Linked DNA regions of Homo sapiens: regions 1, 2, 4, 5, 6 and 7 are each linked to region 3. Evidence: promoter capture Hi-C in 16 types of primary human blood cells and fetal thymus (Javierre and others, 2016). All regions are on one chromosome and are shown on one strand. The core of a region is centred on a gene start or on the middle of the fragment in contact, and the rest is flanking DNA. Distances in the headings are between cores, read along the strand shown. Region 1 has its middle 21 kb from the start of VPS4B. Region 2 overlaps KDSR (3-ketodihydrosphingosine reductase). Region 3 holds the start of ZCCHC2 (zinc finger CCHC-type containing 2). Region 4 holds the start of BCL2 (BCL2 apoptosis regulator). Region 5 holds the start of KDSR (3-ketodihydrosphingosine reductase). Region 6 overlaps BCL2 (BCL2 apoptosis regulator). Region 7 has its middle 240 kb from the start of BCL2.

Evidence for each region. The method cuts DNA at HindIII sites, captures the fragments that hold promoters and counts their contacts. A CHiCAGO score of 5 or more calls a contact.
Region 1: a fragment that was not itself captured here is called in contact with the fragment with the promoter of ZCCHC2 in region 3 in 1 of 17 cell types (total B cells); the score reaches 8.1 in total B cells.
Region 2: a contact is called between a fragment that was not itself captured here and the fragment with the promoter of ZCCHC2 in region 3, in 2 of 17 cell types (naive CD8 T cells and fetal thymus). The highest score is 6.0, in naive CD8 T cells.
Region 4: a contact is called between the fragment with the promoter of BCL2 here and the fragment with the promoter of ZCCHC2 in region 3, in 7 of 17 cell types (fetal thymus, non-activated CD4 T cells, activated CD4 T cells and 4 more). The highest score is 10.5, in fetal thymus.
Region 5: a contact is called between the fragment with the promoter of KDSR here and the fragment with the promoter of ZCCHC2 in region 3, in 4 of 17 cell types (total CD8 T cells, non-activated CD4 T cells, fetal thymus and 1 more). The highest score is 6.4, in total CD8 T cells.
Region 6: a contact is called between a fragment that was not itself captured here and the fragment with the promoter of ZCCHC2 in region 3, in 1 of 17 cell types (naive CD8 T cells). The highest score is 5.2, in naive CD8 T cells.
Region 7: a fragment that was not itself captured here is called in contact with the fragment with the promoter of ZCCHC2 in region 3 in 1 of 17 cell types (fetal thymus); the score reaches 7.4 in fetal thymus.

The regions. Positions count from the first base shown.
Region 1 is chr18:63,441,667-63,445,009 of GRCh38, forward strand. No RefSeq gene overlaps it. Among named protein-coding and RNA genes, the nearest start is that of VPS4B, 21 kb to the left of the region's middle. RefSeq lists a silencer at 3,075-3,184. The HindIII fragment of the contact is 1,615 bases long and covers 1,236-2,850 here.
Region 2 is chr18:63,335,390-63,338,677 of GRCh38, forward strand. All of the region lies in intron 8 of KDSR (3-ketodihydrosphingosine reductase), which reads right to left. Among named protein-coding and RNA genes, the nearest start is that of BCL2, 17 kb to the left of the region's middle. The HindIII fragment of the contact is 6,476 bases long and covers 1-3,288 here.
Region 3 is chr18:62,521,441-62,524,803 of GRCh38, forward strand. ZCCHC2 (zinc finger CCHC-type containing 2) reads left to right here and starts at 1,585. Exons shown (of 14, transcript NM_017742.6): 1 at 1,585-2,923. The coding sequence starts at 1,985. RefSeq lists silencers at 839-948, 1,179-1,448, 1,479-1,978, 2,869-3,108, 3,349-3,363 and an enhancer at 2,294-2,867. The HindIII fragment of the contact is 5,111 bases long and covers 1,558-3,363 here.
Region 4 is chr18:63,317,960-63,321,350 of GRCh38, forward strand. It overlaps BCL2 (BCL2 apoptosis regulator), which reads right to left and starts at 1,810. Exons shown (of 3, transcript NM_000633.3): 1 at 1,215-1,810; 2 at 123-993. The coding sequence starts at 707. RefSeq lists silencers at 432-671, 2,027-2,216, 2,377-2,586, 2,617-2,686. The HindIII fragment of the contact is 7,545 bases long and covers 1-3,391 here.
Region 5 is chr18:63,364,686-63,368,512 of GRCh38, forward strand. It overlaps KDSR (3-ketodihydrosphingosine reductase), which reads right to left and starts at 2,521. Exons shown (of 10, transcript NM_002035.4): 1 at 2,326-2,521. The coding sequence starts at 2,433. It overlaps KDSR-DT (KDSR divergent transcript), which reads left to right and starts at 2,639. Exons shown (of 2, transcript NR_186602.1): 1 at 2,639-3,174. It overlaps LOC124904317 (a long non-coding RNA gene), which reads right to left and starts at 2,315. Exons shown (of 2, transcript XR_007066400.1): 1 at 1,565-2,315; 2 at 1-444. RefSeq lists enhancers at 1,611-1,905, 1,945-2,892 and silencers at 1,754-1,803, 2,154-2,213, 2,284-2,733, 2,844-2,893. The HindIII fragment of the contact is 10,630 bases long and covers 1-3,610 here.
Region 6 is chr18:63,159,433-63,163,232 of GRCh38, forward strand. The region is part of intron 2 of BCL2 (BCL2 apoptosis regulator); the gene reads right to left. Among named protein-coding and RNA genes, the nearest start is that of BCL2, 160 kb to the right of the region's middle. RefSeq lists enhancers at 1,399-1,518, 1,929-2,168, 2,259-2,548, 2,749-2,798. The HindIII fragment of the contact is 5,416 bases long and covers 1-3,800 here.
Region 7 is chr18:63,073,245-63,076,993 of GRCh38, forward strand. No RefSeq gene overlaps it. Among named protein-coding and RNA genes, the nearest start is that of BCL2, 240 kb to the right of the region's middle. RefSeq lists an enhancer at 485-534. The HindIII fragment of the contact is 1,490 bases long and covers 686-2,175 here.

The DNA.
Region 1 (3,343 bases), core at 793-3,292, 920 kb after region 3:
CATCTTCTTTGAGGACAGTCTATGCCTTTCCACTCTGTCTTGGGTGTCTGATGTATTCCAGACACTCAGTGTTTGAGGAAAACCAAACAAGGCATGTGGAAGCCCCTAGGCTGCTGCTTTAAGAAGGGCATGGAATGCTAGCAGCAAGTAAAGCCACCCCACCAGGAACTTACAAGGCAAGGGACTACCCTGCTGGTCTCCACCATCTCTCCAAACATGTTATAGCTTAACCAGCATTCCTCACCCTCCCAAGACTTCACTTTTATGTTGAGGCTTCTCTTTTCTCCCTGTCTTTATATTGGTCAACTTTCTCCCCAAGTCTGCCTATAATTGGGAAAGCAAAAAGTAAATCAAAATCAAGAACGTTTAAAATGAATAGTCTCATTGAACTATCCCAAGTGGAGCTGAATTTTCTCCTGAAATAAGATATAGAATGGTGAAGCTTTTAGATTGGGCCTTGAAGATCAGGAAAGACATCAACAGAAGAAGATAGGGCTTATTTTGCCAAAGGGTGGTCCCAGTAGTAATCCTTTGAGGCAGCGGAGTGGGGTGTGTTCCAAGGAAAGCCACCTGTTTATGTTAGTTATAAGTTAACTGTATTTGTAATAGAGATTAGGCCATAATATTGTTGCTGTTTAGATTTGATGCACTCTGGTCTTCCAGAGGAGCTTGTATATATCTGTGAAGTTTGTGAGTTGAATGTTCGTAAATAGAGAATCTGCTAGATTCTACTGCATACCAATTTTAGGACAGGCACCATTATTGATCCTGGAGATAGAAGCAATAAAAAAAGACATGGATCTTACAGTTCAGTAGGTGAGATAATCACAGATAATGAAATAGGTAATCATGTACAATAAATGCTATGATGAGAAGCTTCTGTGAGAGTGTTTAAAGGAAGAAGGAGGAGGAGGGGTGGTTAGGGAACGCTTCCCTTGAGGGAGGACTGGCCAAAACTCACCTTTCATTAGAGAAGATTGTAAGGGGATGTGGTGCCAGTGGGCCAAAGTCAAATTCCAAGTATTAAAGTGTATGGAGATGGGACAGGTATACAAAGAAATGTCTGAAAATACAGGTTAAATCATGCATGTAATGTTATACATTTTCAAAAATCAGATATACAAAAATGTAACTTTTTTGATAACTGAATTTAGTTCTCATAAAGGGAAAAATAGTCTGGCTACTTTTAAGTATATCCAGCTACATTCAGTAATTTGGGGGCATTACTGATTTAAAGCTTTGTCACAATTGGAACAAGCTCAACCATATTCAGGATGATCACTTCAGGCACTATTCCTCTCCCTGGGATAGATATTAGGATGTGAGCTTTGCATCTGAGGCACAATAGACCCCTGGCAGGGGGTGGCCATGGGTATGTCCAGATGCCCTCCCAAGCCTAGACACACTCTTTTTTCTTTTCTTTTCTTTTTCTTTCTTTCTTTTTTTTTTGAGACAGAGTCTCACTGTTACCCAGGCTGGGTATAATGGTGTGATCTCGCCTGACTGCAACCTCCACCTCCTGGATTCAAGTGATTCTCCTGCCTCAGCCTCCTGAGTAGCTGGAATTACAGGCACGTGCTACCATGCCTGGCTAATTTTTGTATTTTTAGTAGAGACGGGGTTTCACCATGTTGGCCAGGCTGGTCTTGAACTCCTGACCTCAGGTGATCCACCTGCCTTGGCCTCCCAAAGTGCTGGGATTACAAACATGAGCCACGGTGCTCGGCCTAGACACACTCTTGTACTGCCATTACCCCTCCAGGGTTGTCATGACCTGTAACCCCAGGGGGGACTTTTTGGTAGAGACTTGCTGTCTCCCTGGGCCTCCTCCAGCATTTGAGGCTCAGGCCCTTCTTGTTCTTGGATTTTGAAAGTGAAAAGGGAGCTTTATTGTGTGTTGCTACTTCTCCTTCCACCCCCAACTCGACTTACCAAATGAAGGGCAAATTTTGTGGCCCCTACACTGACTCTTACCCTCTTACTTTCTTTCCAAGGCTTCTTCCTCTGTCATCCAAATCAGAGGGTCTTTTGTTTTATTGGAGTGGGAGTGGGGCCTAGGAGAACTGGGTCTTCTCTGTTATGCCTTCTTTAAAATACTTTCTGCTTTACTCCTTTCAACACCTTTGCTTGCTAATCGTGGCCATGCCTGGGCTCGTGGGAGAGCCTGAGAGTGTAAGGGAAAGAGGCATTATTGGGTTATTGGGTGTACCTGCCTGGAGGTGGCTGCCACACCCAATAACGCATACTCCAAAACACAGACACCCCTCTCTGTTCACAGGAGAACAGGGCTTCTAAAACGGCCCATAGTGGTAGGGTGGTGAACAGAGGTGATGTGTGCCTCAGGGAGAACTAATCAGGGCAGAGAAGCAAGCGGGAAAGAAATAGTAAAGTCAGGGTGAGAGGTTTGCACCTGGAGGGCAGCGATGGTAGTTACCTAAAATGAGCAATGAGTCAAGGGCGTGTCATGGTACAGGCGGGGGAATCCTGAGTGTGCAGAACTTTACCTTATGTTCTATGAGCCATTTGAAGCATAGTTCTTTTTTTTTTTCTTTTTGTCCCTTTGAGATGGAGTCTTGCTCTGTCGCCCAGGCTGGAGTGCAGTGGTGCGATCTCAGCTCACTGCAAACTCTGCCTCCTGGGTTCAAGAAATTCTCCTGCCTCAGCCTCCCGAGTAGCTGGGATTACAGGCGCCTGCCACCATGCCCAACTGATTTTTGTATTTTTAGTAGAGATGGGGTTTCACCATGTTGGCTAGGCTGATCTCGAACTCCTGACCTCAAGTTATCCACCTGCCTCGGCTGAGATTATAGGTGTGAGCCACCTCATTCAGCCTGAAACATAGTTCTAAAAAGCTTATTTTTCATTCCTTTTTTTTCCTGTTTATTCAATTTAACAAGTGTTGTGGTTGGAAATATAGATTGCTTATTTCTTGAGTACTTACTTTTAAACCTGAGTGAATGCCTAGACATTTGAAAACTCAATAAATTAAAAGCACGTGGTAGCTTATAGAAATATTACAACACACACACACACCCAGTATGTCTGAGTGAGTCAAACGGAGTGTCTTTGCAAAATGTGCTGTCTGAATGAGACAGCGATTATGTCACTCATTGGCAATAAACACTTGTGGAGCCATCACTGAGGCTGACAGGAAGTTAAAAAAAGAGTCTCTGGGGAAACAGCTTGTTCTGCTTCTGATTCCATGAGATGTAACTATGTCTCTCGAAATGCGTACATATATATTTTATTACTTATTACCACATAAAACTTCATCCCTAAGGTAGGGTGCCCATCGTGATGATGGATTTGAGTACTAGCATTCATTCTTCAAAGGCACAGTTCA
Region 2 (3,288 bases), core at 1-2,500, 810 kb after region 3:
AATCCTAGTAATGTGGACAGAAATCAGTCGGACACATCAGAAACAGTGGAGTGTGCTCGTTCACTTTAAGTGAGATAAAATGGTCACAAAGCATTGATCAGCACTCAGAAATGGACGCACGGCCTTGGCAGATGGCAGTTCTCAACAAGTGAGTCCACGGACCCCTGCGGGCCCCCAAGGACAAATGATTGTCCTAATAACACTAAGACATTCATTGTCTTTTCCACAGTGTGTTGTATGGAAAATACAGTTTTGCCTCTGCAAAACTGCAGAGACATGGGCAAGAACCACGGGGTTCTTGCCAAACTGTACTAGGAGTCATTGTCACCTCTACTACCACACGCACTCGCAGTAATAAATAATACACAAAGAAAATACAAGTTCTAAAATTCTTTTAAAAATCAAAGTGTCAGTTTTGCTTTAAAATCCTCTTGATAAAGCAGGAAAATTCATCATTTTGTTCAATGGCAACCCTCGAGGACATGTCTTCTTAATACTCTGTGTGACAAATGAGAATGCGCCCAACGCGCTTCCGCAGCACTGCATTCCAGGGCGGGACAACTGCCTGGAACAAAAGTCCTTGTGCAGCTCCTGAAGTCAAGGGCTAAACTGCCACTTCTTTCATGGAGCATCATTTGTATTGTTTATTTATTTATTTTCGACAGAATCTCACTCTGTGGCCCAGGCTGGAATGCAGTGGTGTGATCTCTGCTCACTGCAACCTCTGCCTCCCAGGTTCAAGTGATTCTCCTGCCTCAGACTCCCAAGTAGCTGGGATTACAGGCATGCACCACCACACCCGGGTAATTTTTGTATTTTTAGTAGAGATGGGGTTTCACCATGTTGGCCAGGCTGGTCTCAAACCCCTGAGCTCAAGCAATCCAGCCGCCTCGGCCTCCAAAAGTGCTGGGATTACAGGCATGAGCCACCGTGCCTGGCTGGAGAGCATAATTTTTATATGAAAGACCATTGACAGGAAATCTATAGTAATTCAGACTTAGGTATGTGGCAGATGTGCAGAAAGCGAAGCAAGCAAGTGTGTCACTTCAGGAAAAACAACTGGCCACGTGTCATCAATGTGAAATCTGAGCCTTCAAGAAAAAATTAAGATTTGGAAAAACTAGTATCCACCATCACGAGACTGTCAGCTGCATACTTTTATGATAAGATCAGCAGTAATACTGATGAAAGCGATTTTTCTGATCACTCAGTCAACCCATATTTTCCAAATGACTAATGCATAATGTTACGAAATCATGAATGGTTAAAAGATCCATTCAAAGTACAAGACGGACCAATGGAATTTAATGTAACAGAGAACAAAACATTCATTGATGTAGTTTCCAATTCTATACTGCAACTAACCTTTAAGAAACTACCATTTGTTGAGTTTGGGTTTGATATCAAAAAAGAATGTCCATAATTATCTGAAAAGCCTAGTAAAATAGTCTTCCCTTTCCCAACTCCGTATCTGTCTCAGGCCAGATTTTCTGTATATCCTTCCATCAAAACAACATTATTACAACAGATGGAATGCAGAAGCAGCTATTTGAATCCAGCTGTTAATGCAGACCTTAAAGCAACTGGTGAAAATGTGAACCAATGCCACCGTCCTCACTGAACTTTTGTTTTGAAAAGTAGTAAATTTTGTTTAAAAAAAGTCACTTTATATATATGTGACTTTATATATATATATATGTGACTTTATATATATATATATGTGAATATATATATATATATATATATATGGAGTTTTGCTCTTGTTGCCCAGGCTGGAGCACAATGGCTCAATCTCAGCTCACTGCAGTCTCCACCTCCTGGGTTCAAGCGATTCTCCTGTCTCAGCCTCCCAAGTAGCTGGGATTACAGGCGCATGTCACCACACCCGACTAATTTTTGTATTTTTAGTAGAGACGGGGTTTCATCATATTGGTCAGGCTGGTATTGAACTCCTGACTTCAGGTGATCCGCCCGCCTTGGCCTCCCAAAGTGTTGGGATTACAGGCACGAGTCACTGTGCCCAGCCATTTTTGTTATTTTTAATGAATCAATAAATATTACAAACAGCTTCCATTTCAAATATGGCAAATATCAATAAATATAGCCATGTAAATAAACAAAAGTTCTCTGGGGTTGTTGACAATTTGTAAGAATGTAAAGTGGTCAAGAGAAGAAAAGTTTGAAAACCACTAAACTAAATGAATACTGCCAAAATACTAAGAGCTATTTAGCATCATTAGAAACACTGAATGGGCTGGGCACGGAGCTCACGCCTGTAATCCCAGCACTTTGGCCAAGAGGCTGAGGCGTGCGGATTACCCGAAATCAGGAGTTCGAGACCAGCCTGGCCAACATGGTGAAGCCCCATTTCTACTACAAATACAAAAAATTAGCCAGGTGTGGTTGTGAGCACCTGTAATCCCAGCTACTCAGAAGGCCGAGGCAGGAGAATCACTTAAACCCAGGAGGCAGAGGTTGCAGTGAGCCAAGATCGTGCCACTGCACTCCAGCCTGGGCAACAAGAGCAAAACTCCGTCTCAAAACAAACAAACAAACAAAACAACAACAACAACAAAAAACACCAAATGCATTTGCTTTGACCCGAGATAAGCAGGAAAAATAAAGTCTCACTTGTGCCATCTTCCTGAGCCTTTTAATGCACTCAGGACAAAGTTCTTCACACATGTATATATTTCAACAGAATTCACTATTCTCATTCTGCTCAGTTCAGTCTAATGTGACAGCATTTAGGCCACTTCAAGGCTGTCCACCATGTGCTGACACCTCTCATTCCAATGGTCCTATAGATTTTCCAAATTCAGTGTGGGTCTGTGGTTTACAGACATCCCTCATAAATGTGCATTTTTCCGCATTAACAGAAATGTTGTCAAAAAGCATGAGGCACATATGTTGTTCTTCTACAAAACAGCACATCATTTCTTAAAATACCATTTTTGATTCTGAATTAAAAAACATATCAACAGGGAAGACAGGAGGACAGGCCCACGGGGCTGGTGGCACTTTCTCGTTAGCTAACTTTTGGGAAAATGATACTGGGAAGCAGGAATGGGAGAGAAAGCAGCCAGGTGTATATGGGACATAGTATATATCGTTTACACTCATAGGAAAGTCTCATTTTCTTTTTAAAGAACCGGTGTTTCCAGACATCCTTCTAGTAAACCTGTTCCTCAGATTAAGGTATACAATCAGTTTTCAGGAGGCTACTCACTAATATGGAGTCAATAAAGCGTCTAAAAGAAGAAAAGTTGAGTCCAATATTAGATATGA
Region 3 (3,363 bases), core at 335-2,834:
TTAATATTATTACTAGTTGCCTAAGTATTTCACCCTAAGCTTTAGAAAAGTGGGAACAGGAGATGAGATATGAGTAGAAGATCCCAGGGTAGTTGAGGGTGACAGCAAAAAAGGGCAATGACGTATAAGTCCTCATAATAAAGTTTTCTTGGCTGTAAATTACATCTAAAGACTGTAAAGAACTAGCAAATTACAAGAAAGAGTGACTTTTATATATTTTGCCAACCTCAAATGTGCTGAAAACAGTTCTCCCTCTCACCCTTTCATCCCCGAAACTGATTCAGGCTTCAGTTCACCCTTTTACTGAACTGTGAATGAGCCTCTTAGGACATAAACTTGTGAGGTGAACAGAGTTCAGCATATGCTCTCCCAACAGATGTTCCAGCACCACCGCAAAGAGTTACAATGTGATTCTTATCTTTCTGCATACTCCTACTACATAGCTGTAGTAGGACTTCTAAATTTAAAGTCTTAAGATTTTTTTTAACCCACCTTTTAATTAACCCTCAAAAGATCCAGCTGAGTTTTAAAAATTTGGACTATGTTGCTAAAAAAAAAAAAAAAAAAAAAAAAAAGTAACAGTGCGAGTGTAAACATCTTGGAAGCCTAAATCTGAAAAACGTAACAAAACTTTTTTTTTTTAAGTTTAAAGCCTGTCAAGTTGGTAGCTTATTAAATTCCTCCAGTCACATGAAATTCACAGCAGAACAAGGATTCAAAATGGGTTAGGCACCGAAATGTCATTTAGCAAATCAATGATTCCCAAAAGATAGAGGTTTAGGGGCGGGGAAGGGAGAGGCTTTTCCTAAACTATCCAGGAAATAATTTTCACAGAGCGTTACAGACTAGGAGCGTCCCCAGCAGCGCTCACCCTCGGCCGGCCGGGTCCCGCTGCGCACCTCCCGGCCGCGCGTCCCCACCTGCGCACGGTGCCTCCAGCCTGGGCGTGGGCGCGGCCCGGGATCGCGGCGCCGGGGCCGCAAACCGGGGCCGCAAACCAGCGCCGCCACCCGCGTCCGGACCCAGTCCCCTGTGAGCGACACCTGGCAAAGTTTCACAAGGTGGGAGACAGCCCACCGCCGGCTTTCAGGAAGTGCACTGGGCGGTGAGGACTCGAACGAGCTCGTCCCGGGGCTGGCGCACTCACTTCGGAGAAACCCCTGCTCCCGGGACGCGTTCACTCCGGCCGCGCAGGCAGCCCGGGCACCACTGGCGGAGGCGGGGCGGCAGCTGGCAAGCAGAGGAGAATCAGGAGTCCAAAGCCGGGCCAGGGCCCTCAGGAAAGGTGAGAGCGGCCGCGTCCCTCCGCTCACGTGGGCCTCGCACGCTCCTCACCGCTCCCGGGCTACCCTCACGCCGCCCCACGGCCCCAGCCCGCGTCCTCCTCCTGCCGAGCACCAGCCTTTAGGACCGCACGGAAGCCGCCGAGAGGGAGGCGGCCGGCCAGCAGTTGGGCGTGGCTTCCTGGAGAAAGGCGGCCCCCCAGGGGGCGGGGAGAGCGACGTCACCGTCGATTCGCGGTGCTGATTGGCGGAGGTGAGGTGCGCGGAGCCCGCAAGCTTCTCCGCCCGGCCCGGCTGCTCCACCTCCTCACCCAGCCGCTCCGTCCTCACCGGCTCGCGAGGGAACAGCTCAGGCACCGCCGCCCCGGCTCAGCGCGGACGGCGGAGAGAGGGAGGCGGAAGGAGGACACCCTCGCTCGCTTGCTCCCACCCGCACCCGGGCTCCCAGAACCGGCGAGGAGCCCAGGGGGAGGAGCCGTCGCGGGCACGCCCCGCCCCCAGCCCGGGAAGACGACGCCAGCGACCCCGCCGGCCGGCCACCGCCCCCCTCGCCGGCCGAGACCCGCCCCCGGCCCCGGCCCTCCCCCGGCGGCATGGAGGGGCCCCGCTCCTGACGGCCGCGCCGCCGCCTCGGCCCGTGCTCCACCTCGCGGCCCCTCCCGCCCGCCCCCGCTCGCATGTCTGCGCCGCCCTAGCCGAGGATGCTGAGGATGAAGCTGCCGCTGAAGCCAACGCACCCCGCGGAGCCGCCGCCCGAGGCGGAGGAGCCCGAGGCGGACGCGCGGCCGGGCGCGAAGGCGCCTTCGCGCCGCCGCCGCGACTGCCGCCCCCCGCCGCCGCCGCCGCCGCCCGCGGGCCCGTCGCGGGGCCCTCTGCCGCCGCCGCCGCCGCCCCGGGGACTCGGGCCGCCTGTTGCTGGTGGAGCGGCGGCGGGGGCGGGTATGCCGGGCGGCGGCGGGGGGCCCTCGGCGGCGCTGCGCGAGCAGGAGCGGGTATACGAGTGGTTCGGGCTGGTGCTGGGCTCGGCGCAGCGCCTGGAGTTCATGTGCGGGCTGCTGGACCTGTGCAACCCGCTGGAGCTGCGCTTCCTTGGCTCGTGCCTGGAGGACCTGGCGCGCAAGGACTACCACTACCTGCGCGACTCGGAGGCCAAGGCCAACGGCCTCTCGGACCCGGGGCCGCTGGCCGACTTCCGAGAGCCCGCGGTGCGCTCGCGCCTCATCGTCTACCTGGCGCTGCTGGGCTCGGAGAACCGGGAGGCCGCTGGCCGTCTGCACCGCCTGCTACCCCAGGTGGACTCGGTGCTCAAAAGCCTGCGCGCGGCCCGGGGCGAGGGCTCGCGGGGCGGCGCGGAGGACGAGCGCGGCGAGGACGGCGACGGCGAGCAGGACGCCGAGAAGGACGGCTCAGGCCCGGAAGGCGGCATTGTGGAGCCCCGGGTCGGCGGCGGGCTTGGCTCCAGGGCCCAGGAGGAACTGCTGCTGCTCTTCACCATGGCCTCGCTGCACCCGGCTTTCTCCTTCCACCAGCGGGTCACCCTGAGGGAACACTTGGAGAGGCTCCGCGCCGCGCTCCGCGGGGGCCCCGAGGACGCGGAGGTGGAGGTAGAGCCGTGCAAGTTTGCCGGCCCCAGGGCCCAGGTAAGGCGCACGGAGCCTCCCTGGACTCGCGGTGCGATCGCTGCCCCGGCGGCCTCCCCGGCCTCGCTCTCGGACGCCCCTTGCCCGAGCCCCAGCCCGGCGCAGGTGGCTCGGAATCCCCACCCGGCAGCTCCCAGCGCCAGAGGGCTGAGCTTCGTCTCGCTGGGCCGCTCCGTTCCACTCCCCCACCCCACCCCACACCCCGGCAGACACAGCCACCCGCCATCACAGAATGCTCTAGAAGTCCCTTCCGTGCCACGGTGTTGCCACGGAAGACGTGGAGCTCCCCGCCCGGGGCCCCTCTCGGAGGAAAAGTGTCGGGACGTTTTTGGCTCTGAGCATCTCAGCGCTCGGTGCGGGAGCCGCCGGGCGCTGGAGGAACCTGTGTGAGAGCCAGCCGCAGTGAGCCCCAGGCAGCGCCGTCCTTCCCCGCCTGCCTG
Region 4 (3,391 bases), core at 560-3,059, 800 kb after region 3:
AACTCTGATTTTATTTCGCCGGCTCCACAGCCTCCCATTGCCCCAGGAGCCCACCCGCACTCCAACCCCCGCATCTCGGACCTGTGGCCTCAGCCCAGACTCACATCACCAAGTGCACCTACCCAGCCTCCGTTATCCTGGATCCAGGTGTGCAGGTGCCGGTTCAGGTACTCAGTCATCCACAGGGCGATGTTGTCCACCAGGGGCGACATCTCCCGGTTGACGCTCTCCACACACATGACCCCACCGAACTCAAAGAAGGCCACAATCCTCCCCCAGTTCACCCCGTCCCTGAAGAGCTCCTCCACCACCGTGGCAAAGCGTCCCCGCGCGGTGAAGGGCGTCAGGTGCAGCTGGCTGGACATCTCGGCGAAGTCGCGGCGGTAGCGGCGGGAGAAGTCGTCGCCGGCCTGGCGGAGGGTCAGGTGGACCACAGGTGGCACCGGGCTGAGCGCAGGCCCCGCGGCGGCGCCGGGGGCAGCCGGGGTCTGCAGCGGCGAGGTCCTGGCGACCGGGTCCCGGGATGCGGCTGGATGGGGCGTGTGCCCGGGCTGGGAGGAGAAGATGCCCGGTGCGGGGGCGGCCCCCGGGGGCGCGGCGCCCACATCTCCCGCATCCCACTCGTAGCCCCTCTGCGACAGCTTATAATGGATGTACTTCATCACTATCTCCCGGTTATCGTACCCTGTTCTCCCAGCGTGCGCCATCCTTCCCAGAGGAAAAGCAACGGGGGCCAACGGCACCTCTCGCCCCAGCTCCCACCCCACGGCCCCCAGAGAAAGAAGAGGAGTTATAATCCAGCTATTTTATTGGATGTGCTTTGCATTCTTGGACGAGGGGGTGTCTTCAATCACGCGGAACACTTGATTCTGGTGTTTCCCCCTTGGCATGAGATGCAGGAAATTTTTATTCCAATTCCTTTCGGATCTTTATTTCATGAGGCACGTTATTATTAGTAAGTATTGTTAATATCAGTCTACTTCCTCTGTGATGCTGAAAGGTTAAAGAAAAAACAAACTAATAAGTAAAAAATCAGGTGCGTTTCCCTGTACACACTGAGTGAAAGCAGGGCATACACACTACAAGTAACACGGCTAAAAAGAATGTATTAAGCTGCCTGGAAATTAAATTTACTCGAATGCACTTTAAGTAAAAAATCTCAAAGGTTTCCATTGAAAGTTACATTAAACCAATTTCCTGTGCAGAGAACTTACTTGTATTTTTTAAGTACAGCATGATCCTCTGTCAAGTTTCCTTTTTGTAAAACCAAAACAAATGCATAAGGCAACGATCCCATCAATCTTCAGCACTCTCCAGTTATAGCTGATTTGAAACTTCCCAATGAATCAGGAGTCGCGGGGAGAGGGAGTAAAAATTAGGAGGATTTCCAGATCGATTCCCAGACTTCTGCTTCACAGAAATGTCAATCCGCAGGAATCCCAACCGGAGATCTCAAGAGCTCGAGAAAAAAAAAAGGCAGCGGCGGCGGCAGATGAATTACAATTTTCAGTCCGGTATTCGCAGAAGTCCTGTGATGTTTTCCCCTTCTCGGCAATTTACACGCGCGCACACACGCGCGGGCACAGGCATGAATCTCTATCCACGGGACCGCTTCACGCCTCCCCAGGAGAGAGACAGGGGAGAGGGGACGATGAAGGAGCCGGGGACGGAGGCAGGAATCCTCTTCTGATTAAACTCCGAACAGCAAATGCATTTTCCGAAAAGCTGCTGGATAAATGAAGGCAGGACGCGCCTGGCCCGCCGGTGCCGAGCGCTAGAAGCCCGCGCTGTGTGTGGTGCGGCGAGGGGTGGGGAGAAGGAGGTGGTGGGGGAGGGTTTTATTTTTTCCCTCTTTTCCTAAAAAGGATGACTGCTACGAAGTTCTCCCCCCTGGACCCCCTCTTCCGCTGCACCCCACCGGCGCACCCCGCCTCCGGGCTGCGCACCCTTTCTCCTCCTCCTGGTCCTGCGCGGCGGCGCTGGCTACGGCCGCCTCCCGGAGCTCCCGCCGCGCAGCCCGCTCCGAGCGCTGACGGCCGCCGGCAGGGAGGGCCCGGAGCCCCGGCACCTTCGCTGGCAGCGGCGGCGGCGGCAGCGCGGCGGGGCCACGGAGAGCGGCGGGCGGGAGCGCGGCGGGCGGGCGGGCAGGCGGCGCGGAGGGGCGGGCGCGGGAGGAAGGGGGCGGGAGCGGGGCTGTGGTGCCTGTCCTCTTACTTCATTCTCTGCACAGCCCGACCGGTTTCCTGTGCGTAACGTCACACGGTTCATTCAAAAAAAGAAGAAAGAAAGAGCCCTCCTCTGAGCCACCCGACCGCCCCCTCCGCCCCGCTCCCTGGCCCGGGTTAAAGGCGCCGCGGCAGGCCCGGGAGTGGCGCGTCCCGCCGGGGGCACATGGCGCGCGGGGCCGCGGCCGGGGAGGGCGCGTCCGGGCCGGCCACCCGCCCGCTCCGCTGCGCCCGCGGGGCCCGGCCAGTGGGTGGCGCGGGCGGCACAGGCCTCCCGCGCGGCCGCGGCGCGGTGGGTGTGCGCGGGGCCTTCTGCTCAGGCCTGCGGCAGGCCGCGTGCGGACTTGGTGGTCGCTGGGGTCCGCGACGGGGTGGGGGCTCCCGGGGAACCGCACGCGGCCGGGCCGGGCGGACGACGGAGTGCGGAGGGGGGCGGCTGGCGGGAGGGTGCGCCATGAAAACAAGGGCTGGAAAAGCGCCGGGAACCGCCTGGACCCTTTCTGGCCGTGTGAGTGTGTGTGGAGTGTGTGTGTGTGTGTGTGTGTGTGTGTGTGTCTCGCCTGGACCTTTTCTAGCCGTGTATGTGGGAGTGTGTGTGTCGCCTGGACCCTTTCTAGCCGTGTATGAGAGTGTGTACACGCGCCTACACACACACACGTTGTGTTACCGGCGCTCGGCCGCCGGGGGAAGACCCAGGCCAATGCCGCCCCCCACCGCCCCCAGCAGTGGGACCTCAGCGCTGCCCTGCTGTGAAGACAGGTGACTCTGCACGTTTTAAGCAATGTCTAGGGACGCCCCGAGCGTGGTGTTTACTTTCAAGTAGCTTCCTAGGTGTCCGCGCACTACACACGCACGCGCATCCCCGCCCGTGTCCACCTGAACACCTAGTCCGTGGCCCAGGCCATGCAGAACTCAGCGCTCCAGGGAAGGGGTTTATCAAGGGCTTTACGACAGTTTAAGTCAATGTTTTCCCTCTGTCCCTAACACCTTTTACACTGGTTTAGTGCTACACGATGAGGACTTCCATATAGTAACTTTCAGGCCCACCGTCCTAACGCTGGGGTGGGTGGGCTCCTAAAGGTCTCCACCTTTGCCTCGTAGCCAATCCTAGTTGGCCGCACTTTCTCAAATGAGGTACATAGATACACACATACACATTCACACTC
Region 5 (3,827 bases), core at 1,271-3,770, 840 kb after region 3:
CACTCTCCTTGACCTCCCAAAGTGCTGGGATTATAGGAGTGAGCCACTGTACCCGGCCATATCGTTCTAGTCACTGTCCCTATGCAAATTACATAATATTGCATAGTATTGTCTCCTGTTTTTAAAAAATTATATTGTAATGTCTTATTTGTCAAAAAACGAAAAGGTTTCACAATACTTCATCAAATAGCTGCATCAAAACTTCAACGTTTCCCTATAACCAGACATTTAGATTTTTCCTAATATTCACTGTTATACATAAATCATGCTGGGAGGAAGATCTCTGACTCCATGTTAGGATTTTAACATCATTGGGAAGTGTCTCCTACGCAAATGCACCTACCTCTATGGGACTCATAGGCATCCCTTACTTCTTTTTAGCTTCAACCTGCCACCACTGAAGAGATTTATTTGGTCGGTAATCAGCCAGTTATCAGCAGATTACTGTAAAAATATAGCTGTTGTTGGCCGGGCGCGATGGCTCGCGCCTGTAATCCCAGCACTTTCGGAGGCTGAGGTGGGTGATTTTCTGCTTTTTTCCTGCAATTTTACTACCGTAACTAGATAGAAAACACTAGTATATAAAATTGTTTTAAAAATGAAACAATTGTTATAAGTTTGTTCTTAATTATGTATGGGCAGACAGTTTAACCATCAGCTCCCTCTCCCAACAATACCACAGTCAACTCCTAACAAATCTCAAGAACAATTACACTTTTCACTCTTCTTATGACATTAAAAAAGAAGACAGATGGTGACACCATGTGAACTATTCATGTCATTCTCACATTACTTAGAGTGTGAAATAATAATCCTGCGTATTAAAGCGGGATGGTAAAAATAAATTCTTCTTGGTCCACCTGAACAGACACAGCATTTATTATCTCACCTATGACCTGCCGCGGGATGGGGCTGGAAGGACTGGAGTCAAGGCTCAGTGAAACTGTCTTACAAATAAGGAATTCCAATTTTCATTCTGCGTTTAGCTTTAGTTTTTGCAAAGTTATGCTCTATAAACTCAAGCTCTGAAAGGATCCAAGGTTTAAAGCCACGCTTTTGAGGCAGCAGTTCTCTTGCGGATGTAAAACTTTCAGAATTTAGAGTGTCAAGTTTTGCCTTTCTCTTATTTATTTTTTGTAATGAATCCACACTCTTTCCCCATTAGGAACAGGAGGTGTTGGAAAAAGCTAATAGCTTTACAAAGGAGAAATTAAACAGATACATTTTCTCATTCACAAACCCTTGTACAGATTTAAAGCATACTAAGAAAAACGACCATCTTATTTTATACCAGCTCAGCGGGGAGGCTCGGATCTCCGGTGCAGAGATAGGACAGGAAGAGGTGTGCGGCCAATTTTGTAACCAACCCTCCTTACTCCTAACTCCTCGCCTCACTGTGCCTCGGGTTTGGGAGATCCAAACGAGAATGCTCGTGAGAAAGCCACTGCAAACGGGAAAGTGCTGGGCGCAGGCAAGGAGGCATTCTCTCTGTTTAAGAAAGGTGCCACATTTGCAGAACAGGGATCGCTGAATATGCGAGCTTCCGCCAAGAAATAAATCACACCTATCCACCTCTCCTTCATTCCTCGCACACAAGCCTTGTCGTTTAGCTCATCCTTCCCACTAGAAAACAGCAAAGGATTGCATTGGAGCAGCAATCAGCAGATGCCACGCTGAGCTCAGAGACAAGCAGTGTAGACGGGACAGGCGTCCCAATACCGCTAAGCCACCACCGCCAGCCCGCTGGGTTCTGAGCAGTTTCCCCAGGTGAGTCACTTCCTGGAATCCTCTGGCAGCGGCTCTTCCCGTCACTCGCACAGGCCATCTTCCAGTTCCGAGCTGCCTCGGCGGGTCCCGGCGGCTGGGACCCCACTTCCCCGCTGTCTGCCCCCGCCCGGGGCCGCGCGCCGCACCCTGCACACCACCGACCGCTGTGTCCTTGGCAAAGTTTCTCAGCCTCTCTGTGCCTCAGTTGACTCATCGGAAAAACTGAGGACAAAACATCCACATCCCAGGGATGTTGCATGGATTCACGAGCAGCCACAGAACCCCTGGGGCCCCGGGAACCCTGCGGCCGGCGGGGTCCCCCGTCGCACGCTCTCCGGCCCTAGGAGGAGCCCGAGGCTGCGGAGGGCGGGTCCGCGAGGCCGGGTGCCGGGGCCGGGGGAAAAGCGCCGGGGTGGACGGCGGCAGGTGACCTTCCCCATTTGGCCATGCCTTCCTGGGGACCGCGGCCTGGAAAAAGGGACGTAGGCTACGCGGCCTCGGCGGCGGAAAGGCCGCGCGGGCCGGTAAGTCGGGGGGCAGCAACAGGAGGCCACTCACCACCACATGCGCCCCGGGCAGGGCGAGGGGCTTGGGGCTGATGAGCGGAGACACCATGTACAGCAGCAGCACGAAGGCCACGAGGAAGGCGGCAGCCAGCAGCAGCATCGCTCCGCGGGGCCAGGGGCCCGGAGCGGCCGGGCGGGGGCCGCCGGGCAAGGCGCGCAGGGCTGGGCTGCGGCGAGGCGAGAATCACGCGCGGCGGGCGGGCGCCTGGAGTGTTTGGGTTTGCGGGCCGGGGCGGGCCGCGGCGGAGGGGAAGAGGAGGAGCCGGCGCGCGCGCCACCCAGGCGGGGCGGTGCTTCCAGGGGGCGAGTAGGCCGCCACCGCCACCGCCACCGCCACCACTGCCAGAATCGCCTCTCGGGGGTCGCCGGGTGTCTCCCACTCCCCCGGCCTCGGGACGGGGCCCGCAGTCCGCAGCCTCTCCCGTGGAAACCGGGCCTCCCGTCCCTGTGCGTCGCGAGCGGGCTCCGGACAGCGCCAGATGCGAGCGCGCCGGGAAGGGCTGCGAAGACTCGCTCTTCGGGAGCTCGAATGGCTTCTTAGGACCCCGCAGGGCGGGTTTCCAGGCCTGCCACGGCCTCCAGTGTGGGCGTGACGAGCGCTCCTCCCTGGAGTTCAGCCCTCGGCTTGGGACTGCCCGCTGGGTTGCTCGGAGGCCCCGGAGCATCGGAAAGGGCGGCTGGAGGCTCCCGGAGCGGGCTCAGCCTGGGAGCCCAGCGACTACGCTCTGAAATCCCGGGCTCCATTCCATATTTTTTGGCGTTTTTAGAAGATGGTCACGGCCCACTTTCGCTTTTCAGAGGACCGGAAAGCCTTAACAGGGAGTTTTGAGGAATCACTAAGGTAATTCAATTTCATTGAGTTCAGAGTTCATCTTTACCAAGCAGGTTCAAAACAAATAAATAACGCAAACAACTCAGCTTTATTAAGGTCTCATTCACGTACTATACCATACAATTCCCGATTTAACGTGCGTAATAGGCCGGGCGAGGTAGCTCGCGCCTGTAATCCCCGACCTTTGGGAGGCTGAGGCGGGCGGATCTCTTCAGGTCTGGAGTTCGAGACCAGCCTGGCCATGATGGTGAAACCCCCGTCTCTACTAAAAATACAAAAAATCACCCGGGCATGGTGGCGTATGCTTGTAATCCCAGCTACCCTGGAGGCTGAGGCAGGAGAATCGCTTGAACCCGGGAGGCAGAGATTGCGGTGAGATCGCGCCACTGCACTCCAGCCTGGGTGACAGATCAAGACTCCGTCTCAAAAATAAATAAATAAATAAAGCTTATAATAAATTGTCTTTAATATAGTCACAGTTGTAGACCCATCACTACCATAAATTTTAGAACATTTTTGTCACAACCCCCCAAAATCCTATACTCATTGGCAGTCACGACCCATTTCCTCCCAAGCCCCGCCCAAGCCTAAGCAATCCCTCATGTTTCTGTCTCTATAATCTTGCCTATTCGGGATATTTCACATAAATGGAATCATATAAT
Region 6 (3,800 bases), core at 686-3,185, 640 kb after region 3:
AAAAGTTCTGAAACGGATTTCTTTTAGAAGCAGAGATAACTGGGAATTTTCTCAAAACTAGTACAAGTATGAATGTTTCTCCTTTTACTTTCCATTTTTACAAATGCATTTAGGGCCAAATGCACTGGCTAATTTTGATAGAATGTAACAGAGACAGGAGAAGCAGTCCATCTCAGTGAGTGAGTGGACATTTATTAGGCATTCACTTTTCACAGGCCTGGGATATTAGGTATTGCGGGGGTGTTGTATTCAGGAAATAGAAGTCAAAATCCAATTGAGTAGGGAAATGAGCCAAACAGAAATGGACACAAAGACACCAAAAACACCTACAAAAACACAGATGAATGTGCAGAATCAGCTGGAGTTTCTATGAGCTGAGCTGAATCTGCTCACCTTGCAAAGATTTCCCCGCACAGTGGGGACTGCCCACGCGTACGCATTTCTTAGTTTCTGCTGGCCAACTCGAATCGTTTTCAGCGGGGTCATTTACATCGTGTCCACTTTTTCTGGTTTCCAAACTCAACCCACTTTATTATCTTAAGAGTTTTCATTCTCAGTATCATTTACATACAACAAAATGAATATATCATGTGTACAGTTTTATGAATATTGACAAAGGCATACATCCCTTTAACTCACTCCCCTATCAAGATATGCAGCATTTCCATCCTCCCAGAAAGAGCCCTTGGAGCCACTTTGTTTTTAAATTATTTGCATCTGAATATTTTTGAGTGGAGATTATCAAAGCCAAATGTGTGGGAAGAAAGCCTAATCATTAATCATCTACTACAAATACAGGTAGTAAAGGTTTTGAAGATGGTGCGTGAGCCTGCACAGACAAGTCTGCGGGATTGGGTCCTGTTATGAAATGCCAAAGGGGCTTTTTAGCGACAGGCACGTGGGCCCCTCTCAGCCGCCCTGTCGGCACTCAGATACGCAACTAAGACCGAGTGGGTTTCTTTTCTGGTTTTGTTCTTTAGGCATCAGAGTTTACATGTTTAGAAAGAGGGAAGTTGAGGCTGAATAGTCACATCCACCATATTCTCATAGGGGCAAATGTTCTCTGATTAGGAGGGCTCAACCACAGTGCAGAGTCCCCTCTTCCAAAATTCTGTTTCAACACCGAGAGGAGTTCACATGACCAGGCAAATTAGAGATTTTCTTAGCATTTCCTGTTTCCCAGATTTCAGAGGAGCCCTTCAGGGAATGTCTGGCCCAGGGTAGCACATTCAGGATGAGGGAAAAATGGTTATTTTTAGGTCCCTCCAACCATCACATTCCTCCCTGTCTCCACTTGGGCACTCTGTTGTTCTAGTGACCTGTCAAAGGGATGGGGGCGGGGCTGCGAGAAAAAAGCCACATCGCTTCCTTTGGGGTGGGGGTAAGGGTACCCCTGCTCCAGGGGTCCTAAACTGCTCACTAGCCCTTCTGCTGGAGAGGGACCAGAGGTGGAAGACCTGCCAGAGTGAGTGCCAGGCAGCTCTAGACTTCTGGGTATTCATTTCTCATAAAAGGTTGCAGTATTTCCTGGACACCTGAATTCTATGTCTTCACGGCAAAAACAATTCAAAATGTCCCAAAACATTATGCAGGAAGGAGTTTTTAATTTTTTTTAAATCACTTTTCCAAAATGGTACCCTGAGGTGATCCTGTCTTCAATCTCCCAGCAATGAAAACAATGTGGTTGAAAAGTTGACAGCTTTCAACCCTTGAAAAGGTCACCTCCCTGCCTCACACCCTCTCGTAAGTATTAAGAGCATAACGGATATTTTGAGTCACATGTATTGTTCTTTGTTCATTTGCATTTGGTGAAATCCCCCCCTTGGACCAATTTAGTAAGCAGTGCCTTGGGCTTCCTTGGTGATTGTTCTCTTGTCTTCTGTATATTTTTTCCTGTGAAAAAAATTTAGACTCAGCCAGTGAAATGAAGTTGCAGCCTCTGTCACTGATGCTTTCTTTTTGCTCAGATGATCTTTCCATCTCGCTTGGGACAGAATTCCTTCTTCTTTGCAACGAATGAAGACCTTCGAGGCTCAGCTGAGGCCCTTGTACTCCAAGACTTTCTGAAAGCTCCCTCGCCCCTCCCCATCTGACCTTCTGTTGGACTGACATACTTCTCCATATTTCAGCCTCAGATGGCTTGGTGTTCACCACTAGACTGTGTTACTGAAAGTTAATCAAGGGTCCTAGGGCCATTTACAAAGTGGGACTGTAAGAGAAAGTCTAGCTAGATGGAAATGTATCCTAAATACCCCCAAGTCCCAGCACAGGGGTTCCCATCAACAAAAAGCCTCACCTCCAAATACATTGCTGAGGACGCAGGGCCCCGTCTTCCCACCTGACGCACTACACACCACGTCAGCTGTCACAGGAGGTCTGAGTGCTTTATGAAGCTGCCTGCTTTCTCTCTTACCTCCATGTGTAAGCCAACCACTCTGGCTTTCAGAAACATATTTCTTTCTCTATGAGTAATTTAAAAGTGACTCATCCTCAGCCTCACCAGCCGGTCCATGTGACCTGCAGTGCTGGTTGAGTGTTATCTATAGATGTGTAAACCAAAGCAGTTCTTAGAACACAGATTCCCCCTCCCACGTGCTGTTGATTTCCCTTTGCTACACAGGGAGGGAACGATGTCAGACATGAGCAGCCAGGGACTGCCCGCTCCGCACTCAAATCTGGAATGTGTCCATTAGAGGAAACAAAGGCCATCACCCAGTGACAGAAAAGAAGAGACAGGCAAAAGGCCTAATATATTTATTTTAGTATTAGCAGACCATCAAGAAGCTCTGAGAAAACTCCACAAAAATTGAAGACGATGATGACCCATATAAACAAAAAACTGCTCAAAGTTCTTTTTCTGAGCCAGTAGAAATTTAGACCTCATGAAACAGAGATGACACCCACACCCACCCCAACCAAAACCCCACCAACACGTCTTCATTGCTCAATCAGAAACACATTCCTGGGATCTGCTGTGGTTTGTCTTGGGAACTCACATATATGAACATGTTTTTATTTCTTCAACTTGCCTTTATTCCACCATCACCAAAGAATGGTGTCAGGCCCAGCTCGGGGACACTACTGGTGCAGGCAGGCACGCGGGTGACACAGCTGGCCAGCATTCTAGATCGTGTTTCTTACCTCTTTCTCACTTCCTATTTTCTATTAAACCAAATCTGAACTCATTTGCCTGCTTTGTGAAGACCTTCATAATCCAGCTACTGTCGCCTGATTTTCTAGCACCATCTATGCTCTTGGCACAATTAATCCTTGGCTACCACTAGGGCAGCATCCTCACTGCTCCTCCAAGGAAGACACCAGAGCCTTCATTTCCATGCCTTCACCCTCCCAAACCCCCAAACTCTGCCCTCCTTCCTTCTTTCCTTCCCTCCTTCCTTCCTTCTTTCCATCCCTCCTTCCTTCCCTCCTTCCTTCCTTTAAATTGAGAAACTTTTGCTCTGTCACTCAGGCTGGAGTGCAGTCGCAATTATAGCTCACTGCAGCCTTGAATTCCCAGGATCAAGTGATCCTCTTGCCTCAACCTCCTGAGTAGCTGGGACTATAGGCATGTGCCACTATGTCTGGCTAGTTTTTGTAGAGATGGGGTCTGGCTATGTTGCCAAGGTTGGTCTTGAACTCCTCGGTTCAAGTCATTGGTCCACCTCGGCCTCCCAAAGTGCTGGGATTACAGGTGTGAGTCACCATGGCTGGCCACCCTTCCTTACCACTGTCTGTATCTTTACCTTCTGGGAGCACTCTTACCTTCATCACCCAAATCTTAACCCATTCTTCCAGCTCAG
Region 7 (3,749 bases), core at 181-2,680, 550 kb after region 3:
CCCGCCACCGCACCCGGCTAATTTTTTGTATTTTTAGTAGAGACGGGGTTTCACCTTGTTAGCCAGGATGGTCTCGATCTCCTGACCTCGTGATCCACCCGCCTCGGCCTCCCAAAGTGCTGGGATTACAGGCGTGAGCCACCGCGCCCGGCCGTCAGTAATATATTAAGAGATGTCATGAGTCTATAAATGTAGCAATTGCACATGGCTGGCATAGAAATCTCAACTTCAATATGTGATGTTCAAAGTCCAATTTAAAGGGATTTTAATAATTAGCCATAACTAATAACTAAGGTAAGGTTTGTTGTATCTTGAATCTTAAATGGTTGCCATGTGTCTGTTTATTAAAAATAGAGTTTCCTTTTTTTCTTTCTTCATTCACCTTAAGTAAAAGTCTATTATAGCAAAAATGCAACAGTGGCATCCTGTGGCTTGGCCTGTGAATGACAGGTGCGTGTCACAGTTGTGATCTTGGAGGCTTGGTGTCATGGCTACACAGAGGTACAGGATCATTGTGAAGAACATGGCATGTTAGAAGGAAAAGCTCCATTACTTTATTTAAGACGTAAAATTATTATAAATGACTCATTATGATCTTTTATCTTTATTTCATGGGAGTAAATTGCATGCATAATTAAAAATTGAGTTGAGAATAAAGCCACAGAAATGTACTTGTTTTTTCAAAAGCTTATTTTTCCGGACTCTATGATGAAGTTTCCCTCTGTCATTTTTACACATAGAATATACCATTATTTCCTCTCATGTAATTCTTCTGTAAGTGTAGGAAATGGAGTGAAAGAATCCATATTAAACCATTAATAACTGTAAATACTTTATCTCTCCACCCCCCCAGAAATAAATACAACTAAATCTCGGAAGCCTTTTGATTGTGATGCTTGGCTGCTGAGCCCTCTACGCTGGAAAGGCAGCACTATCATATTTAGCAGTGCGTGCTTCCAGCTTCAAACTTTAAAAAATAGTTTAAAAACATCTTCAGGGGCCGGGCGCGGTGGCTCACACCTGTAATCCCAGCACTTTGGGAGGCCGAGGTGGGCGGATCACGAGGTCAGGAGATCGAGACCATCCTGGCTAACATGGTGAAACCCCGTCTCTACTAAAAATACAAAAAATTAGCCGGGCGTGGTGGCGGGCGCCTGTAGTCCCAGCTACTCGGGAGGCTGAGGCAGGAGAATGGCGTGAACCCGGGAGGCGGAGCTTGCAGTGAGCGGAGATCGCGCCACTGCATTCCAGCCTGGGCGACAGAGCGAGACTCCGTCTCAAAAAAAAAAAAAAAAAAAAAAAAAAAAAAAAAAACTTCATAAACAACATACAGTTATACTTTTTCTTATTTAAAATGTTTACATAAGTAGAATTATGATATTCACATTCCATGAAGTTTTGCACTGAAGATGTGGTTGAGGTCTCACGTACGCTTATCTTGTGTGAAGGAATGTATGGAATATGAATGCCATAATTTTACTTATGTAAATTGTAAAAATAAGAACAAATATATATAATAAAGACCTTTGGATTTCTGCTTCTGAGGACTTCCTGTTCTCCTTCCCTCCACTTTCCTATGGGCGTGCTTCTGTTCTTTATTTATCCGAGTTTTCTCCATTAAAGATAAATTCTCTGATAAGATAAATACAGTATATATCTTTATTAATTCCTTTGTTATAGATCCTGCAAATACCTTCTCGAGGCCTGTTTTTTCCTCTCTAACGTTGATGGGGTATGTTTTGTTATAAAGATGTTTTCTGTTCTGCAGGGTTGCGTGTCAGTTACAGTTGTCATTTGTAAGCAGTAGAATCCGGTCTGACCAGTTTAAGCAGAAAAGAACTTAGGAGAGACAGAAGGGAGTTCACACAACGTTTGGGACAGATGGGAAAAGAGGCCTGAGACAATGAAAGGGACACTCCCAGAACCAACTGACCCTTTCCGGAATCTGCTGCCCACCCCGGGACCACACCGCCTTTGCCCAGAATGCGCCACTGAAATGACAGCGGCTCCCGGAGACGCGCAGCCAGCCAGCTCCCTCCCGCGGCCCGAGGCCCCCGTGTCTGATTGGCAGGCCTGGTCACGTGCCCGCATTTTGGCTGGGAAAGAGTCAGGGAAGGCACCGATTCAGATTCTCCCTTGGGGAAACAACTAAAATGCACGCAAGGTGGCCTAAAAAGCTTGGCAGATTCACTTTGGGCCATAAAGATATTCTTCAAACTTAAAAATAAAAAAATAAAAATAAAAGAAACTAAACTAAAAAATATCTTCATGAACAACATACAGTTATGCTTTGTCTTATTTAAAAATTTTCCATACATAGAATTATGATATTCACATTCGATGAAATTTTGCATTCAAGATGTGGTTGAGGTCTCACGTCTCAGTAGTGTTTAGTTGCGATTTTTCGTGCTGAGGTCTTTAATTCTTCTGGAATTAATTTTTGTATAATTAGTGTAGGAGTCTTTTATATGAAAAGCCAATGCTTCCATCATCAATGATGGCACAAGCTCATCTTTCCCTGCTGATCTCTAGTGCCACCGCTATCATATTCCACATCCCACGTAGCCCCTACATGTGAATCCTGCATGAACATGGATTTGCACCAGGCTCTCTATTCTGTCCGCTGCCTCTTCCTCTGCTCAGACAACTATATTTTAATTTCTGTGACTGTCTAGAATGTTTCAGAATCCGCAGGCCAACTGCTCCTGCCCACCCATTGTTCTTATTTTTCGAAATTATCTTGGCAATGATAATTCACTTTTCCATATGAATTTTAGAATCACGTTACAAATGAACAGAAAAGTTCTGCTGAGATTTTATTTGGAATTTACTTAAATTTATAGATAATTTGGGCAGAATTGACATGTTTATGCTTTTGAGACCTCTTACCCATTATTCAGATCTTCTTTTATATCCTTTAATAAAACTATAATTTTTTCCCATAAAGCTCTTAAAAATGGTACGTAATGTATATTCTTTAGGTCCTTTATAGTTTTGCTGCTATTGTGAGCTGGCTTTTTTTTTTTCCAATTTTTTCCCATTTGTTATTGTTCACATTCAAAAGTTATTGAATTTTGCATGTTGATCTTGTAATCAGTAGCCTTGCTGAATCCTTTTTTAGTTCTAAAAGATTTTCTGTTGATATCTATGCATTTTCTTTGTTCTTTCTTTCTTATTTTATTTTATTTATTTATTTTTTTGAGACAGAGTTTTGCTCTTGTTGCTCAGGCTGGAGTGCAATGGTTCGATCTTGGCTCACTGCAACCTCTGCCTCCCAGTTCAAGTGATTCTCCTGCCTCAGCCTCCTGAGTAGCTGGGGTTACAGACACGTGCCACCACACCTGGCTAATTTTTTTGTATTTTTAGTAGAGATGGGGTTTCACCATGTTGGTCAGGCTGGTCTCAAACTCCCGACCTCAGGTGATCCACCTGCCTCGCCCTCTCAAAATGCTGGGATTACAGTCATAAGTCTCCGTGCGCCACCCATCTATGCATTTTCTATGCCTAAAAATAATAAATTTTCACTTCCTTTCCAAACCTTATGCATTTTATTTATTTGTTGCTTACTGCATTCGCTAGTATTTTCTGTGTAAAGTTGACTGGGGTGGTGATGGCTGCCCTGCTTGCCTTTTCTTGGTTTTAATAGGGATAATCCAGAAAGATGTGATATGATTGCTTTAGGTTTTTGATAAAAACCCTTCATCAAATTAAGGAAGTTCTCTTCCATTTCTAGCTTCCTAAGAGTTTTT